Regions from separate parts of the Homo sapiens genome. Here region 1 is linked to region 2. The links are contacts of gene promoters, found by promoter capture Hi-C in blood cells and fetal thymus (Javierre and others, 2016). All regions are on one chromosome and are shown on one strand. Each heading gives the region's core, a stretch centred on a gene start or on the middle of the fragment in contact. The rest is flanking DNA. Distances are from core to core; before and after follow the strand shown.

Region 1 (3,509 bases), core at 606-3,105, 1.2 Mb after region 2:
TACCCATGGACCAGCCTTGGCCTCTTCTTTCTGGCCTTCAAAAGAAAGGCTTTGCGATAAGTTCTCCCTTAAAACAGAGAAGACCACGGTGCCGGGGTGGGGGTGGGGTGTGACCGTGTTCCTTGCCTATTTCCCTTACAACAGAGAAGACCACGGTGCCGGGGTGGGGGTGGGGTGTGACCGTGTTCCTTGCCTATTTCCCTTACAACAGAGAAGACCACGGTGCCGGGGTGGGGGTGGGGAGTGACCGTGTTCCTTGTCTATTTCCCTTAAAACAGAGAAGACCACGGTGCCGGGGTGGGGGTGGGGAGTGACCTCGTTCCTTGTCTATTTTAGGCTTTAGCCTAAAAATAGATGGGGATGGAGAGGGCTAGGGAGGGCAGGAGGGTCAGAAAACTCCTGAGGTTTCTGGTGGTAAATTGTGAGTACAACAATGGATCAAGAAGGTGACCCCAGAACCCTTGCTGTGTGCCCACTGGGGTACAGCTGGTGACCAGGAGGATGCTCAGGGCTGCCTGTGGGCTCCTGAGTGGAGAGACTTGAGGTTGACCAGTCCATTTCCACTAACTTTGTAGGATGCCTACCTTAGAGGACAAAGGAGGCTGGTGGCCTTCTCTGAGCAGGGCATTATGGTGGCCCCAAAAGGATCACAGGGCCCTTTCTGCCAGCCCCCAGGCCTGTACTTTGTAAGAACTGCAAATTGTGTCCTCATTGTCTGTGTGTATGTGTTTCAGTGTGTGTGTCTTTCTTCTTATCTCTTCATCATCTGGGTCACCTGCCCACCTCTGGACAAAGCTTGCATTTAAATATGGTGCCAGACAGTGACGTGATACAGTTAGCGGGTGATGCTTGCTGCTCTAATTTTGTCTGCTTTTGGGAACTCTGCAAAAATGCTCTTCCATCCCTCACTGGGAGCACTGCTGGACAAATGGTACTAAAGGGACCTGTACCTTGGGGGGCCCAGGTGACACCTGAGACCCTCTGTAGACAGCATGGCAGCCCTCCACTCTCTCGGCTCTCCTTCCTGAGGCTGGAGAACAGAGATCTCACGTTTGCAGAAGTCCTTTTAAAACAAAGTGCCAGAACAAGGATTTGACATCACCAGTGAGAAAAAATAAATTCATTTTTGCCCACACCTCCACTCCCCCGTCTGTTGGTGTCAGACTCTGATGGGTTGAAAGGCGGCACAAAGAGAAAGAGGGTAGGGAGATGATGGCAACTCGGGGAGATAATTGACTTCAGAAATGCTATGTCTTGGATGTAGGAAGAAAACAAGTGAAAATATGTTATTTTACAACCTTGATACTTCTGACCTCATGGAAAAAACATACACACACAGCGTAGGGTGAGCAGGTAGGCAGGAGGAAGGGTCCTAGCACGGGGTGCGGGCGCCCTCGCGTGGCCATGAGAAGTAGTGCCACACGCACACGTTCTCTTTCCCAGAGAAGCAGACGTGCTGCACAAGTGCTTGGCCACCGCCTACACTGAAACTGGAAAGAGCTCACTGAAAAGGAATGCAGTTCATAAAAAGTCTTCCTTCTCTACCCAAGACATTCTTGTCACTCCTAGGGCTGTCATTCTTGAAAAGGAGAGGCTGGTATAGTAGGAAGAAAGCTCAATCCTAAAGCTCAGTTTGGTGTTTGTGGCTTAGCGGCTGGACGTCCTTAGTGTGTCTTGGCTTGTCGCCTGTAAAGTGATCAGCATGACCTGGATGGTGCTTCTGCTTCCCTGCAGCTGGGATGCTCTGGCCTTGAGGATGCTGAAACACCAGAGAGCTGGCCACTCGCTGGTATCAGTCGGGCAAGCGAACTCTTTGTGTGGGATTGCTTCATTTCATTTGAAGTCATTCATTGCTATGATTGTAGTCTTTTTCTGGTTCCCATGAATCTGGTGTTGGCTCAGTGTAACAGAACCAGCCTTATTGTTCCCATTTGCAGTTACAAGAATATTGCCATTGTTATTTGCAAGCCTGATTTCCCTGTCTGGTTACCTGTAATGCTGCTTCTCTGAAATTCTCTGAAAGACAGAAAAACCTTCCCCGCGGGATATAGGTTATCAGGCACCTAAACTCATTGCAGCTCCAAGACATGCATGGATTAGGGACCAAGATGTGGGGCTCATAGTTTACAGAATTTGGTCTTATATTCTCCCTTTCATCTGGATCTTCATACAGCTACTCACTTGCTGCTAGAAAAGAAAGCTCCCAGTGTGCCAGATGGATTCCAAAGTCCCATTTCCTGCATTCATCCCACCATATTTGAAGACTCTTTTCTTTTCAAATGCTTAGCCCGGGTGAGCAGACCTCAACCTTCGCCTAGCACCCATCTTCCTGATCCTGCCTGAGCTTCCAGATCCCCAGTTCCATCTTTACTTTGGTTCTTGTATAAGACGAAGAGAGCATTTATCTTTTCTGTTTAAACCCTTGGGATATTTCTGTTTAGCAAGACAGCAATTTCGGGCAGCTACACTGTTTTATTAAGTATATTAAACAGCAGAGTAGCTCATCTGTTGTCGACTGGCTTTCTTGGCTCAAACCCAATATATCACGGGTGGTTTTCCCAACACATTTTTAAATTCTTATTACTGGCTAGGATATGATTTCACAAATGTTATTATAATAATTCATTAGTATCTTACATAACCAGTAATACAGACTGAACCTTTGCCAAATGCATTGTTATAACTTTTTGGAATGGTGGCCGCATTAATTAATCATTGCTTGTTGAGTGCCTACTATGAGCAAGAGAATTTGCATTTTTGTTCTTTCATTTCTCATGACAGCCCAATAAGGGAGGTAGGATTATCTCATTTTAACCAAAGGAGACTCTGAGGCCGAGGGAGGCTGAGCGGCTTACTCGAGTTCTCGCAGCTGCTATATCCTAGAGGAGACCAAATTCACACCCAGCTTGGACTCCAAAGCTTGTACATTTCTCATCATGTGACCCTCCACCCACAGACTGTCTGAGTACAAAATTCCACAGAGGGCCTTGACTTAGAAGACCCTCTGCCAGCATTTTGTCTGTGGTTTTGTGTGTCGTCTCAGATGAAGGTGACTCAAGACTTCAGGCAGAGGATGTTTTCCATTTAAATCCCCTAAAAGAAAATGGCCCTGTTTCTAGAAGAGAGAAAAGCCCAGACGTCTGCTTGACTTTGCTTCCAGGGGCAAGGACTGGGGTCCAGATCCATAATCTGGGAGAGTCTTTTATGGCTTTCACCTTTGGTGTTGAAGAGGACTGGCAAGCAAACCCCTTGGACCAATGGTTTCACCCTTGGAAACTTAGCTGGGTAGGTCCATGTCACCATGGGACTGGACTGACATTTAGCCAGATTTTGAAATGAGAGACTTGAACCTGAACCCTTGCTTTTCTCTTCTGGATAATTTGATTTTTAGCAAGAGGCTGTTGGAAGACACAAAGGTCCATTTTGTCTCAAAACAGGTGAACATAGGGAAGAGAAACTGAAAAGGGAGGCTTTGGGAGCACATAACTGTTTTCAGATATTTAAGTGCT
Region 2 (3,518 bases), core at 716-3,215:
ACACAGACACCTCCTGCTGAGTCAGCACCATCTTTGCATCTAGTTAGAAATGGTCTGGTTAGGTAGCCATCCCCTGGACTCTGTTTTTCTCCCCTGTTTAGGTAAGAGCTGTGTCTGGGCTAAGGGCAGCTGGGTGGACCAAGTGTGGGTCTGGCTTTACTAGAGACATTCACCCAAAGAGCTCGTTCCAGCCCCTGCGCCCCTCGCGTTTCCACCAAAGCTTCAGCTCCTGGGCTGAGCCCCCAGGCAGAAGTTCTCTGCCCCTCCCTCTTGTGCTGGCTGCTGGCATTGCCAAGTTCTGCCGGGGCTGAGCGCCAGGTTGGCAAGGTAGTCCATGCCCCATTGATCACAACCAGCTGGCTGCACAGAAGTTGGGCAGCCCCTCTCCAGGTTCAGCTCCTTTCAAACAATGTCTTTTGCTTATGGCGACCTCCATACCCAAGGGAATCAGACAGCCATCTCTCTCCATCCCATCTGCCTTTCCCTGGGAGCCTCTCAGATCTGGAGGCAGTAGAGGGCTGAGGGGTGGGAGTGGGAGCTATTCGTAAACGCTCAATTTTCATCTCTGCTGGGAGAGGCAGGTGCCGGGGAATGCGTTGATACCCACTTTCGGGTCAGTGCGCCACGTGCCGCGGGAGATTCGGATGAGAGGGATGGGCGTCGGCAGCCCCACTCTAAACTGGAAGGGACCTGGGGGTGGGGGCGCAGGGATCCAGGGTGGCAGAAGTTCAGAAAAGAGTTACTGCTCTTTCTCAGACAGGAGAGAATCTCGTTTGGGGTAAGGCTGGAGAAGATGAGTGGGGAGGGCTTTTTTTTTTTTTTTTTTTTTTTCTCAGAGGGATTGGAAGGGGAGATTTTAGAGACGCTGGGAGGCGTCTGGGGGGCCTCCGGGCACGGCGGCTGGAGGAGGCTCTCAGTCCTACCTGCAGGTCGGCCCCGTAGAAGGCAGCCATGGACGCATCGGCCACCAGCAGCGTCTCCACGAAGCGCGCCTCAGACACAAACCGCTTGGTCCTACTCGTGGCCCCCAGGGGCGGTGGCGGCTCGCTAGCGCCTTCTGCCTCCTCTTCTTGGCTCTCCTCCTCGCTGTCCTCCTGGTGGTCTCCTCTCTCCTGCCTCTGACCCTCTCCCGTCTCCACCTCCCACTCGGGTCCTCGCGGGAGGGGGCGGGCTCCGGCGGGACCCCAGCGCTGCAGGCGGTGCGGCTGAGCCAGGGAGCCCCCCGCGCCCTGCGGCTGGATGGTGAACTCCTCGCCGTCCAGCAGGAAGGAGCCGCTCAGCCCGCGGCACAGGCTGACCGCCGCCAGCGACTCGGGCTCCCCATTCACGGTGCCGGAGAAGAAGCAGCCGCGCAGCCCCCGCTCGCCCCCGGTCGCCCGGCCGGAGCCCCCGAGGCGCTCGATCTTGAACTCGGGCGCTAGGAAGCTGTCGTCGGGCGCCAGGCGCAGCACGAAGCCCTTGCCGAAGGCGGACAGGTGGAGCGCGAGCTCGCCCGCGCTGCCGGGCAACCGCGTGGGCACCACCAGCTCCGAGGCCTGCCCCCCGGCTGCGGGCCGGGCCGGGGCGCCGCGGGCCAGCGGCAGCAGCAGCAGCAGCAGCAGCAGGAGCGGAGGCCACCGGGGGGCGGCGGGGGCGGGGAGCATGGGGGCTGCGGCGGTGGCTGCGCGCAGGAGAGGGAAGAAGCCCGCCAGGCGCGGGCAGGTGCTGGCGGCCCGAGCGCGGCCCGGCCGCTCTCTCCAGGAAAAGCGGAATCAATCGGGTGCAAGGCCGACTCGGCCCGCGGGGCCCGGCGGCGGGAGCGCTCCCCCGGCGGCCCCTCTGGCTGGCGCAGCCCGCTCCTCCCGCGCCGCCGCCCCCGAGCCGAGCGCGAGCAGCTGGCCCCGGCCCGCGTGCGCCCGTCCTCCGCCCCTGCCCGCGCCAGCCCCGCGCAGCCGCCTCCTGCCTCCTCCCCACCCCGGGAAGCACCGAGTGGGCTGCCGAGCCCTTCTTATTTATACTTCCTTCCCGGCTTGACATAAGAGGTTTATTTTTGATCTCTCACTATTCCCGTTTCCCCTCCCCTGGGATCAGAGAGAGAAACTGAAAAGAGGGAGAGAGAGTGGAGAAAAAAAAATTGGGATGAAATGCAAAACCAATCAGGCAGCGAGACCCGTCCGCCACCCGCCCCCCTGAAGTGTCAACTACAACTTCTTTCCTTTCCCTCTACGCGTGGACCCACGTTAACCCCTACCATGCTGGACTGACCCTTTAGAAAGAGTCCCTGGGAGACCCCAACCGCTTTCTCCTCTGCGGCCAAGAGTCCAGGATGCATCTTCCGAAGAGGCTCGTGCACTGGTCTCAGCGACCCTGTTCGGATCCCTGCAGAGTCCGACTGCAGAGCCCGACACTGTTGGGATCCCTGCAGATGCCTCCGGAGATCCGACTGTGTGGGGAGAAGGTTCCTGAGCTTTTCATTGTAAAGCATAAAGGGAGAGGAGGAAAAGGTCATGCTAAAATCATGCCCTCCTCTCATCACTACTGCACAGCCTTCCTAACTTTCACTCCAAACTGAAGATGGGGAAAACAAAAACAAAACAAAAAACAACCCACCTGGTTAACCCTAAGAGGGACTCTCACTGTCCTGTTAGAGGGCAGGTGGGGCAGAGGCCAGCACAGTGGTAAGTTACCAGCACTGAGGTTGGAAGTTAGCATTTCCCCAAGAGGGAAACAGACCTCCAGTCCCTGAAAAAGGTCTTCTCTTCTGGATACTGCTAGTTGCCCGGGACTTCAAGTAAGGTGGCAGGCCCTTTCACTGCGTTGCCACAGCCCCAGGAACAAATGTGTATGAGGTGAATTTATTCTGTCCCATGTCACCACTGCCCCCTAGGGAAGGGGGTAGTATTCAGGAAGAGAGGGATGACATGGTCTCAAGACCACAAAACTGCATCCCATCCCAGTCTCAATGACACAGGTCTGGATTGGGTGGAGGGCCCTGTTCTCTACCTACAAACTCTAGACTCATCCACCAACTGTGCCTTTCTCTGAGTTGTCAATGTGGGTGATGCATTAGGAACCGCTGGGATCAGGGCCTTTAAATCCTTTGCCAATTCACCTGCCCCCAGGTACCCAGCTCTGTGCTTATGCTGGGGATGTTGACAGTCGAGGTCATCGCTGATTCTTTTCAGCCCATCTGACCCCTTCCTGCAGTGTGGTGGTTCAGCATGCATCTGAGACTCTCAGGGCTTGTTACCTCCAAAGAGGAGGCTCTTGCCCAGGGGAAAGTGCTGCCAAATTCCCTCTAAGTATCCCCCCTCTCTTTGCTTTCTCAGAAACACAGAGGGACAGCTGTGAATTAGATGAAAGGATGAACTTCCCAACCTAGCATGGTGCAGAACCTCCTTTCCTGCATAATTTATAGGATAGGAATAACGAGTCTAGAATGTTTTGGGGAAACACTTCTAGAGGAAGGACAATGGAAAGAATGGTCTCTTCAACCCTTTTCTCAAAACAAGCAAAACACTTCGTCCTAGCACAGTGTA

Evidence for each region. The method cuts DNA at HindIII sites, captures the fragments that hold promoters and counts their contacts. A CHiCAGO score of 5 or more calls a contact.
Region 1: a fragment that was not itself captured here is called in contact with the fragment with the promoter of ADAMTS8 in region 2 in 1 of 17 cell types (endothelial precursors); the score reaches 7.1 in endothelial precursors.

Annotation. Positions count from the first base shown.
Region 1 is chr11:131,672,750-131,676,258 of GRCh38, forward strand. The region is part of intron 1 of NTM (neurotrimin); the gene reads left to right. Among named protein-coding and RNA genes, the nearest start is that of NTM-AS1, 11 kb to the left of the region's middle. RefSeq lists an enhancer at 1,266-1,560. The HindIII fragment of the contact is 2,124 bases long and covers 794-2,917 here.
Region 2 is chr11:130,426,644-130,430,161 of GRCh38, forward strand. ADAMTS8 (ADAM metallopeptidase with thrombospondin type 1 motif 8) reads right to left here and starts at 1,966. Exons shown (of 9, transcript NM_007037.6): 1 at 924-1,966. The coding sequence starts at 1,643. The HindIII fragment of the contact is 10,262 bases long and covers 219-3,518 here.